Regions from separate parts of the Homo sapiens genome. Here all the other regions are linked to region 4. The links are contacts of gene promoters, found by promoter capture Hi-C in blood cells and fetal thymus (Javierre and others, 2016). All regions are on one chromosome and are shown on one strand. Each heading gives the region's core, a stretch centred on a gene start or on the middle of the fragment in contact. The rest is flanking DNA. Distances are from core to core; before and after follow the strand shown. Region 1 overlaps XPO4 (exportin 4). Region 2 holds the start of LOC124903129 (a long non-coding RNA gene). Region 3 has its middle 23 kb from the start of XPO4. Region 4 holds the start of GJA3 (gap junction protein alpha 3).

The links. Contacts are between HindIII fragments. The CHiCAGO score rates a contact against its expected background, and 5 or more counts as called.
Region 1: a fragment that was not itself captured here is called in contact with the fragment with the promoter of GJA3 in region 4 in 1 of 17 cell types (M0 macrophages); the score reaches 5.5 in M0 macrophages.
Region 2: a contact is called between a fragment that was not itself captured here and the fragment with the promoter of GJA3 in region 4, in 4 of 17 cell types (M0 macrophages, naive CD4 T cells, fetal thymus and 1 more). The highest score is 7.9, in M0 macrophages.
Region 3: a contact is called between a fragment that was not itself captured here and the fragment with the promoter of GJA3 in region 4, in 8 of 17 cell types (endothelial precursors, total CD4 T cells, fetal thymus and 5 more). The highest score is 7.7, in endothelial precursors.

The regions. Positions count from the first base shown.
Region 1 is chr13:20,843,953-20,846,713 of GRCh38, forward strand. The region is part of intron 4 of XPO4 (exportin 4); the gene reads right to left. Among named protein-coding and RNA genes, the nearest start is that of XPO4, 57 kb to the right of the region's middle. The HindIII fragment of the contact is 1,649 bases long and covers 674-2,322 here.
Region 2 is chr13:20,822,841-20,825,810 of GRCh38, forward strand. The region is part of intron 7 of XPO4 (exportin 4); the gene reads right to left. It overlaps LOC124903129 (a long non-coding RNA gene), which reads left to right and starts at 2,104. Exons shown (of 2, transcript XR_007063711.1): 1 at 2,104-2,289. The HindIII fragment of the contact is 555 bases long and covers 1,140-1,694 here.
Region 3 is chr13:20,924,108-20,926,947 of GRCh38, forward strand. No RefSeq gene overlaps it. Among named protein-coding and RNA genes, the nearest start is that of XPO4, 23 kb to the left of the region's middle. The HindIII fragment of the contact is 1,667 bases long and covers 418-2,084 here.
Region 4 is chr13:20,159,571-20,162,411 of GRCh38, forward strand. GJA3 (gap junction protein alpha 3) reads right to left here and starts at 1,482. Exons shown (of 2, transcript NM_021954.4): 1 at 1,320-1,482. RefSeq lists silencers at 1,213-1,302, 1,463-1,542, 1,773-2,132. The HindIII fragment of the contact is 22,819 bases long and covers 1-2,841 here.

The DNA.
Region 1 (2,761 bases), core at 248-2,747, 680 kb after region 4:
GTTCAAACATAATAGAACATTTTCTCCCTAACTTTAGATCTTCCACTGTATCTTTAGATCTTATAACAACTAGTCAGAAAATCAGATATGACAAAATAAATATTAGCTCTCCTTTCTAAGTGGTCTGGTCAGTGTTAATAGTACTTCCTCAAATGCAGTTATACAAATCCATCTAAGACTTGAACTCAGGACACACTGTTCCTACTCAATAGTGGAATTCAAATGATATTTAAAAATAATAAATGTTGAAGGTATTATTTTGTTTAATTCGCAGAACAACCTATATCCTCATTTTACATTTGAGAGAAGTGACCTGGAGTACTTATCTAAGGCCAGCTGAGATTTCAACCCATGTTTGACCCCGTTCTGTTTGTAAAATGCATTCCCAAATAGATGAAAAGTGAAACAGATTTTATAGTGTCCAAAATATTATAGCCAGGTAATACCCAAAAGTTTTTTAAATAGAAAAATGAAGATTTTTCTTCTCATTGGTTCTATCCAACAGGCTCCTAATATCAACTCATTGATTTTATTCCCAGACTAAAACAGTCAAGGTACAAAGGATGGAAAGAGGATACAAATTATTTTGGCAACTTTCCAGGAGTTAAACAGAAATATGCACACTACCTCTGAACAACCGAAAGATTAAAGTCAAGATGATACTATTTATGCAAGCTTATCCAACAGCTGAACACTGTCATACCCACCCACCAACTGCAACATCTCTGTTCAGAAATGCTTCTGATGTCAGTACCTTGACCTTACAGATACTTATCTTGGCAAATCTTAGCAAATAACTTAATGATATTAAATTCCTAAAAACTGGCAGGAAATATCTGTTGAAGGTGAGAGGTGACTGATGGTTCCATGAGTGACTAATAGACTATCTGTCCATTTTGTATATGTCTGAAATTTTTCTTTAAAAAATGTAAACATAGGCCGGACACAGTGGCTCATGCCTGTAATCCCAACACTTTGGGAGGCCGAGGCAGGCAATCACCTGAGGTCAGGAGTTCGAGACCAGCCTGGCCAACATGGTGAAACCCTGTCTCTACTAAAAATACAAAAAAATCAGCTAGGCATGATGGCAGGCACCTGTAGTCTCAGCTACTTGGGACACCAAGGCAGGAGAACGCTTGAACCTGGGAGCCGAAGGCTGCAATGAGCCGAGATCGCGCCACTACACTCCAGCCTGGGCAACAGAGTAAGACTAAGTCTCAAAGAAAAAAGAGTAAACATAAAGTTAAATTCCTATTTGCCTCTTAATCTCAACTAAAACAAGCGTGACTATATAGCTAATATTTATGAAAGGCACAAAACCCCATATGTTAAAGAAGTTTCTCAGACTTTTCCACACCTGGAAGTAAATGCAAATTCTCTAGCGAATCTAGGGGTATGATCAAAGATGCCTTCTGCAACAATAAAAGTTCTCTGAATGTTACTGGTTTGGCATAAACACACACATTTTGTAATTTTACTTCAAAATATACATGACTTAATATAAAAATGTCCCTTCCTCCCAAAATCTTCAAGAAACCCATTTAACTGCCTTTGTATGGCCCCAGGCACTTGGAGACAAAGAAGCCAGGCACTAAGGCCTCTCACAGAAAAAAACAGTTGATCACATATTTCTGTCATTTTACTGTTTAAAGCGATCTCAAAATTCAGGAAGTACAATCCCTTCATTTTTTTAGTTAACAAAATTGTTAATTTTCAAAAATTTTCTTTTAAAATGATTAATGATTATAGTGCCAGCAATTAACATTAGACAGATACATTTAAATAACATGAGGATCAACTATAAACATGATTTTTAAACACAGCTAGGCTTTGGTGGGGAAAGTAGATGTTAAATCAAATTAATGAGATTCAGAGAAAAAATTTAATTCACAATGATCTAATGATGAATCCCAAGATCCTAGGATCCTGAAAACAATTTTTCATTGACACTTAGCTTTTCACTTATCCTTTCTAAGACTCTAGTCAATAAAACATTATAAACACATCTAAATGTTTGAGAAAACTTGTCTTACTAAAAAAGGAAATTAATTTCTGAATCTCAGATGAGATAACCTATTAAAAACAGAATTGACACATAACATAAAAACCTGCAAGCTGAAAGAACCTAGAAGCACTCATTAAACAAATTCTTACTCTTACAAATGAATAATCTATACTAGTTTTTCACAAGTAATTTACAGCTTTCCACAGATTGTGTCTTACTGCATTCACCACAAAATGGCTTATTTTAAAACTATCACCATATTCAAGTTTTCAGGAACATCTCTCTAATTAATGATCACAGCCATACGTACTCACAAAAGCTTTACTTTTTCACATGAAACAAACATTTCCCAAGATAACATGTGGTTTACGGTCAAGATGAGAAACAAATGAGTGAAGGAGAGGGGCAGGGCAACGACAGGTGAAAGCCCTGCTAAAGCTACTCCTGCAACTACAAACTTCATCAGACAAAACAAGGAGCCCTAGTGGCATGGAACTGCTTTTTAGTTACGGCAATGAATATATCCCTCCAAAACAGCAAACTTCCACACTAATGAAGTACAAATTCACCCATAAAAACAAGTACATTCTTAATCGATGAGAATTTAGAACAAAATGCACTTATAGACTTAGCCCCCTGAACACGTAAGAATCTTTCGTTTTTAAATAATTTTTTCATCCTACAAAAATATACTTCTATCTTAGAAAAACTAGAAATCGTAGAAAAGCACAACGAAAATAAAATTGTCTACAATCC
Region 2 (2,970 bases), core at 167-2,666, 660 kb after region 4:
TAACCTACATCATTGCTATTAATAAATGCTAAAAGATTTTGAATACCAAATGTAAATTATACTTAAATCCATTTAAAGCTAACCTATATTTTACTTCAGTGATACAATACGGACATGAAACACCTGGTAGAGTGTTTTGTATGAAGGGAATGCTCTTGAAATACTGCTCCCTAGTTTTATAGTATTAATATTCTCAGATGTTAAAGGTTTCATTTCTGTAATCTGACATATTAGAGCCAAGGAAAATTTAGTGAAGGAATATGATCATTATTAATCTTAATCCATCCAACACTTACTGTTGGATGTACCATTTTGTACTTGCCGAAGTACTTAACTAGCCCTTTTCTTTCCCACACAAAGTTCTCTCTCTATTTTGTAAATGTTGTGTAACATCAAACTCATAGTTTTAGGCTATATTCACTTTGACTAGGCAAATTGTTTCTAAATTACTTCAGGTCAGAACATTTAAGTACTCACTGGTATGCTGGGCCACAATGAACACTTAATAAATCCTTGTTCACTGAGTCCCTTAATCCTTAATCTCTGAACTTCTCAAGGTTCTAGTAATGAAATTTAAAACACTAAGTAATCTCTAAACATTACAAAGTTAGTTGATTTACTGACATGCTTAAAATATGCTATACTCTTTGGACTAGAACAAACCACAGCCCATAAGCCAAATTTGGCCCCCGCCTGTTTTTGTATGGCTGTGAGCTAAGAATGGTTGTGTTTTTTTCTTTTTTCCATTTTTGTATGGTTGGGGGGAAACCAATAAAAATAATATTTTGTGACCTGTGGAAATTACACAGAATTCTTTTTTTTTCCCCCGAAACAGAGTTTCACTCTTGTTGCCCAGGCTGGAGTGCAATGGTGCAATCTCAGCTCATAGCAACCTCCGCCTCCCGGGTTCAAGCAATTCTCCTGCCTCAGTCTCCTGAGTAGCTGGGATTACAGGCACGTGCCACGGCGCCTGGCTAATTTTTGTATTTTTAGTAGAGACGGGGTTTCGCCATGTTGGCCAGGCTGGTCTCAAACTCCTGACCTCAGGTGATCCACCGGCCTTGGCCTCCCAAAGTGCTGGGATTACAGGCATGAGCCACCACGCCCGGCCAACATTCACATTTTAATGACCATCAATAAGCTTTACTGGAACACCGCCGTGCTTATTTATGTATCATCTATGGCTGCTTCTGTACTACAATGGCAGTGTTGAATATGAACATATGACCTGCAAAGCCTAAAGTGTTTACTATCTGGCCCTATACAAAAAATGTCTGCAAATCCTTGGTCTAAAATACAAATATTTTTCAAACTATATTCCAATGTATTTTAAGTTTTATATAGTAAATTCCAAGTACAATAGACAAATTCATATATGCACACTGTCTAGTTCATAAACTTCTGAACACAACTCACTCTTATAAGTTCTTTATCCGAAATCTGTAATTAAATTTTTGTCACGATGCCTTAGAATCTAATCAGCATTTAAGCATGATATCCAGGGATATATTCTGTCAACAGATAGAATGTAATCTGGGACAATAAGAATACATCTCACAATCTTGAATGTTCATTATGGTCTCGAAGCGAGCAATCAGAAGAAAGAATACCCTCAATGAAATAGCTAATGAAATAACTAAAAATAAAGTTAAAATAAATAAATAACTGTCTTTCGAGACGGTGTGTGCTGTTCAAGCTTAATTTATGTTACCTGAAATATAAACCACATAAAACTAATAATAAATGCTTAATTTTTATACAATATAAATTCTTGCCTTTCTTCCAATGTCATCATTACAAAAGAGTTCCTCCATATCTGAACATGTATTTCAATATAAACTGTATCATAAAACGGAAAGCTGAATCACCACCTGAATATGGAAAAGGGACAGAGGGATAAGGGAAAGCAAAGCCCAGCAGGACGCCCAGTGAGATGAATGGCAAGGATATGCATCAAGAAAAGGAAGACAAGGAAGGAGAAGCAAGTAAGGAAGATGACGAATTCTACTGGAACATGTTAAATCTGAGATGTCTGTTGGCCATCCAAATTAAAACATCCAGTAAGCACTGGGATTATAAGGCTCTGAAACTCTGGAGCAGGCTGTGCTGAATATAGATGTAGGAGTCATCTGGGAACCGGTGCCTGAAGTCCTACGTGTCAAAGAGAGAGCCACAGGAAAGTGTACAGAGTCAGCAAAGTTGAGAACTAAGATAGGAATGCCAATATTTATGTGATGAGCAAAGAAGGAAGAGACCATAAGCGAGATCAAGAAGACTCTGGTCAAAAAGGTAGGAAGAAAACACAATGAAAGTGGGTTTTTTTTCCAAGACCTTATAGAAGGAAAAAAAATCAAGAAGTTTGTAAACTTCTATAGGGCAGAATGCAACCCAAAGTATTCCAACATATTTAAAGTCTTATGATTAACATATTTAAAGTCTTGCTCTTATGCAACAGTATACTGATGCTTATCCAAATCTAGCACAAGTGATATCCAGTGGAAAAGTGCTTTAAAGTAGGCAATAAATTCATATAACTAAAACTAAATTTAACCAAAGTTAAATAAAAAGATTAGCCATTGTCATTTTTAAAACAAGTAACAAACTTGTTCATAAACTGCTTAAGTGAAAATAGCTACAAACACAAAAATTGTTCAAATAAAGCAAAAAAGGGTTAACTTTCAAATTCAAGTTATTTGCGTGTGGTTGTTCACAGCTGACAGGAGCAGCTGTCTGGTTTGTCTAGACAGCTGTTCAGATCTGGTAGAGTTGTTTCCAGTACTGCCAGCAAGTTTTTCACCTTTTCAAAAACTGCTGGAGTGGAATCTACTTTCAGTCAAGTGCATAATACAAAGACTTGGACTTGGATTCGTATCAAAACAATTCCTGTCAGATGAGGCAGGCAACGGAATTTTAAAATTTAGTTACAATTATCTCTTTGATCTTGATAGTGGTTTTAGCCATCATTTCTCT
Region 3 (2,840 bases), core at 1-2,500, 760 kb after region 4:
TATGTGCTTTATACTATTTTTTATACTGTTATTCTACAAAAACTTGTGATCAATTTATGTAGAGACCAGGCCGGGAGCGGTTGCTCATGCCTGTAATCCTAGCACTTTGGGAGGCTGAGGCGGGCAGATCACTAGGTCAGGAGATCGAGACCATCCTGGCTAACACAGTGAAACCCCATCTCTACTAAAAATACAAAAAATTAGCTGGGTGTGGTGGCGGGCGCCTGTAGTCCCAGCTACTTGGGAGGCTGAGGCAGTAGAACGGCGTGAACCCGGGAGGTGGAGCTTGCAGTAAGCCAAGATCGTGCCACTGCACTCCAGCCTGGGCGACAGCGACACTCCATCTGAAAAAAAAAAAAAAGAAAGAAAGAAAAAAAGTTTATGTAGAGACCCCTTGTGGAGTTTACTGACATTTCAAGCTTCAGTTTCAAGCATTTGATATGCGCAAAATGGTGCTCAATACATACATTGAACATAAGCCTGCTCAGTATCTTTTTGTTGGTTTAACATGGAATCAACAAACAGTAGGTGCTCATATGGTTCAAGAACAGAGTAAGCCATACCATTCAAGGGTGTTTAGTTGTTTTGTTTTGTTTTGTTATATTTTGGAGAGTGGGAGACATAATGCATATTTGACTTCATAGAAATTTCTCAAATATTTCTTGTTTCTAAGTGACTGCGTAGGCTCAACAGAACCTTCCTGGAAAACATAGATATAAAAAGAAATCACTAAAAGAACACATTGCAGTTTGCAGGTGGCTTGACTGAAAAAAAAAAAGAAAAAGAAAACACCTACTTTCCTCTCCATGGAAACAGCATGCCAGAAAATTTTGTGGACCCTTGAAATGAGCACACATCTCACTTGCAAAAGCACAGCACCAGCGCCCTCTGCTGTTTCCTGGTTTGATTTAGAACTCAGAGAAGCTACAGTACTTTCTAGACTAAAATACCATGTAGAGTTCAGGATAATTATATTCTAGATTAGACATAGGCAAGCACATTTATATTAGTACATTCTGTAGTATATTCCAGAGTGAAGGAAATCAAATCATCAAATACATTTGCATCAGAATATTTCTGCATGCTCTCTTATTGTTTTAGTATCTGTTTTTGTTTCAACTATGATCATGTAACCTGTTATTGCAAAGAAATGACTTGCAACAGTTATCTATTTACATTTATATAGTATAAACTCCCGTGACCTAGAAGAGAAACATGCAAAAAAATCTACTCAACAAAATTTAACTGATCTCTGAAAAAGATATGCATGGAAGAGAGCAGAACAACTAAATTCCATTCAGGGAGTTCTAAAACCTTTTTTCCTTTTTCTGTATTTTCAGTAGATACTGGGTTTCACCATGTTGGCCAGGATGGTCTCAATCTCCTGACCTCGTGATCTGCCCGCCTCGGCCTTCCAAAGTGTGGGATTATAGGTGGGAGCCACCGCGGCTGGCCATGTGTGGGGTTTTATGGACGAGCTTGAGGAGGCAATGTCTGATTTACATAGGCACAAGAGGGCTGAGTGCGGTGGCTCACACCTGTAATCCCAACATTTTGGGAGGCCAAGGCGGGCGGATCACGAGGTCAGGAGTTCGAGACCAGCCTGGCCAATATGGTGAAACCCTGTCTTTACTAAAAATACAAAAATTAGCTGGGCGTGGTGGCAGGCGCCTGAAATCCCACCTACTCGGAAAGCTGAGGCAGAAGAATTGCTTGAACCCAGGAGGTGGAGGTTGCAGTGAGCCGAGATCGCGCCACTGCACTCGAGCCTGGGCGACCAAGCGAGACTCCGTCTCAAACAAACATAAGCACAAGAGATTGCTTGAACCAGGTGTGCCATTTGCAAAATTGAAATGATCTCTGAATCATTTAAATCAGCATAGTGTGTGAAGAAGCTGACCATCTCACCCTAATCTTTTATCATGAAGATGAGGTTTCTACCTGGCCAGCACCACGTTGTTGCCTGCTTCTTTACTGCACACATGGTTGACAAAGAAAAGAGAAGATGGATCCTCCATGTTGCACATGCCTGGCCCCCAGGTAGCTTTCTCCTATTAGCACAGCTGCAGGGATTCATCTGTGCAAGCTTTCAGCTTGCTTGTCTATGTCTGCAGCTCAATTTTACAGGCTGCTCTTTGTTAGGAAACAAACGATTTGGGGGCTGCTTTTCATTAAAAGGAAAGCCTTGCTGAGGACTCTTACCCTCACTATCTGCCTAAATAATTTCTTTCTAGCTCCTGTATCAATAACAGCTGCTATGTTATTGTTAGTGCTACAGGTTAGTTATCTGAATTAATCAGTAATATAATAAGAGGAAACTGTTATATGAAAAATGGGCATCCACTGGATAGTTTAAAACTAATGTTTTGGCTGGGTGTGGTGGCTCATACCTGTAATCCCAGCACTTTGGAAGGCCAAGGCAGGAGGATTACTTGAGGTCAGGAGTTTGAGACCATCCTGGACAACATAGTAAGATCCCATCTCTAGCAAAAAATGTGAAAATTAGCCAGGCACGATGGTGCAGCTGTAGTCCTAACTACTCAGGAGGTTGAGGTGAGCCCAAGATATTGAGGCTACAGTTAGCTATGATTGCACCACTATACTCTAGCTTAGGTGACAGGAAGACAGTGTCTCTTTAAAAAAATGAATAATAGGCTGGGCATGGCTCACACCTGTAATCCCAGCACTTTGGGAGACTGAGGCGGGCGGACCACCCAAGGTCGGGAGTTCGAGACCAGTCTGACCAACATGGAGAAACCCTGTCTCTACTAAAAAAAATACAAAATTAGCTGGGCATGGTGGTGCAATCCTAGCTACTTGGGAGGCTGAAGCAGGAGAAT
Region 4 (2,841 bases), core at 232-2,731:
TGTGAGTAACATTCAAGAAAACTGGGTCAAAAATATTTTCCTTATTGGCAAAAAATTTTGTTACCCGCCATTCTTTTAAGACAGCTTTCAGCCAGTTAACGGTTCCTGGTTAAGAAACAGTACTGTCTGATTTGTTAGAGTAGTACCGTTTCGTGAATTACTTTCCACTACAGCAACACATGCATTGCCCTTATGAGATGCTTATCTCGATATGAACCAAACTGCTGAGCAGGTGGAATCTGTGCCAAACTAGCTGATGTTTACTTTGAACACACTGATATTCGGAAAATAAATCCCTCTTTTTTCCTCTTTAATCTTTTAATGTTTGTCTTGCACATGGATGGACCGCCAGTGAAGTGATGCGCACATCATAAATCACCATGGTTTTTAATTCCTGGGTGATGAGACCCATAATTCGCTTGTCAGCTGTTTGTATAGAATCATTTTTAAATGGCATGTTTTGGAGACATCTTGATAAAATAAAAACTGGAGTTCTAAAGTTGCAGTCACATATTCACGAACCGAGAACTCTACATGGTAGGATGAATTTTGCTCACTAGTGTGGAGTCGGCAACAAAGCAAATGCAGCCGCGTCACTGCCGTTTGTTTTCTCAAGTCTCCTACGGGAAGGGGCTCGGACAGTGCTTTTCCACTCCTCTGCAAATTCCTTATAGTTGAACACATCATAACAAACATACAGGTCGAGAAATCTGGTCGTGGCATTAATAGCTACAGTGTTTCTTAAAAATAAAAAGTTTTAAAAAGTTTCTGAAAAAAATGTAGGCGAGCCAACCTTGTTTCTAAACAATCCCAACAGGACTTTTAGGAGCACGGCGATGCTGAATGCCCGTGGACGGCTGGGTGCGCGCCGTTAGCTGGCGCGGTGACATCTGCTTAGAGTTTTCAAGCATTTCAGCATCGCTAGGAGCCCTACAGCCTGACGGTCCGGGACAGCCCGGCTTCCTCCACCCGAGGGGGAAAACAACCCCAGGAAAACAACTTAAACTCGGCCTTGGACTGTCCATCAAGGGAAGCCAAACGAGGCGCTGCTCTCCAGACCTCCAGGAGCAAAGGAGGAAGATCAATTATTCCAAAAGTTTCTCACAAATTTCCCGAGCTCCCCACAACTTTTTGAAGAATCCTGAAAGAATCCTAGGGGGCTGGGAGCCGCACACGTGCCGGGGCTCGGCTTCCCAGCTCGGCAGTCTCAGCCCGCTGGGCTCGCCCGGCAGCTCCGCTGCGCCGCCGACCCGCCCGTCCCCGCCCCGCGCTGCCCTCGGCCCCTGTGCCTGGCCTCCGGGGCGCCCGGCCCGCCTTACCCCGCTCTGCCGCGGCGGCGACCCGGGTGCGTTCCTCCGGAGCAGGGCTCCCGGCCGCTCTGAAAAGAATTCCTTTCACACGTGCGGTGCTGCTTCACGCGTGCGCCCCGCGCCAGGGCCCGACCTCCCCGCCCTGATCGCCATCCCTGCAGCCCCAGTGTGCGCTGCGCCCGACGCCCCCAAGCTGCAGCTCAGGACGCCGCGCCACGCCCCCGCCGCCTCCGAACAGCCCCGCCCCGCGCGCTTCCCAGCACGCACACCTACCGCCCCCGCATCCCTACCCTGTACGCGCAGCCACAGCACTCGCCCGCGTCCGCATTCCACACCCTACCCCGCGCGCACGTCCATGCCTAGCGCCTGCATCCCCATCCCGCACCTGCGCGGGCCCTGGGGATGTGGACGCGGGGGCTCTTCCCTGCCGCCTACGCACTCCGGGGCATGCCCGCGCGGGACGTGAGAGGAGAGCCGAGGGCTGTTGGGGCGGGCCCGACCCGCTTGCGGGGCGCCCACCGCACGCAGATGCGCCAGCCCGCGCCCCGCTCGCGCCTGTCCTGGGCTTCGCAGGCCCGGCGAGGTAGCTGCTCTCCGGGCGCTCCCACGGTCGGAGGCGCGTGGGCGTCGGGCACCTAGGTCTCGCCCGCCTGCAGCCGCCTGGGGACGCGGGTTCCGGACGGCTGGCGCGGGGCGGGGCGGGGACCACCGAGCAGGAAGTCCCCGCGGAAGCGCCGCCGGGCACAGCGTGGGTGCTGTCGAGGAGTGGCGCCCGGGCGGGGCGGGAGGTTATAAATAGCGGCCGCCATCCTGCTTCTCTTCAGACACACTTAATTTAGCCGGCAGGCACACGGATGCTTATTTTTAAAAAAAGAACTTGTTTTATTGCGCTCGAGGTGACCGGGAAGGTGTCCCCGCGGGTCACTCGCTCCATCTGGTCCTGGAGACGAGATGCCAGGGCGAGGCCTAACCTGCCTGCTGGCGCCCAACGAAGATTTTAACGTTTTCTGTTCCCTTCGGGGTGGTTTTACCACGCTTGAGAGGGACGCCTACCGCGGAAGGCCGCGGACCGAGGGCGGCATCGCGTCCTTGTCTGCTGTCTGGGCACAGCCTAGAGAGGCCGCGGGTCCCCTCCCCGTCCCCCAAGGTCTGGAGTGGGGTTTGACCAGCCTGGGATATTAACAAATATCGGTGGACTGCATTTCGGTGATCATTCCACAAGCTGAAATGGCTTCAAAATCACCTTTATGAGTAATAAGTTTATTCCAGGAATGTGGCAAAATGCAAGTCTGATAGTTTTCGTGTCTTCATGGAGCAGCTTCCGTCGGCTGCCTTCGTTAGCGTTTAGATCTACTCGGATTAGCAGTTGGCTTGCCCTGAAAAATGCGTTTGTTCTGCTGAGATCTGAATTTAAAGTTATCCCAAGGAGGAAAAACTAAGCTCCTAAAGGCGCATCTAAAATATCTTCTCCCTTTGGGAACTTTGCGGTGTATGTATGGAGTAGGTAGTAGTTACGGAGACTTAGTTTTTA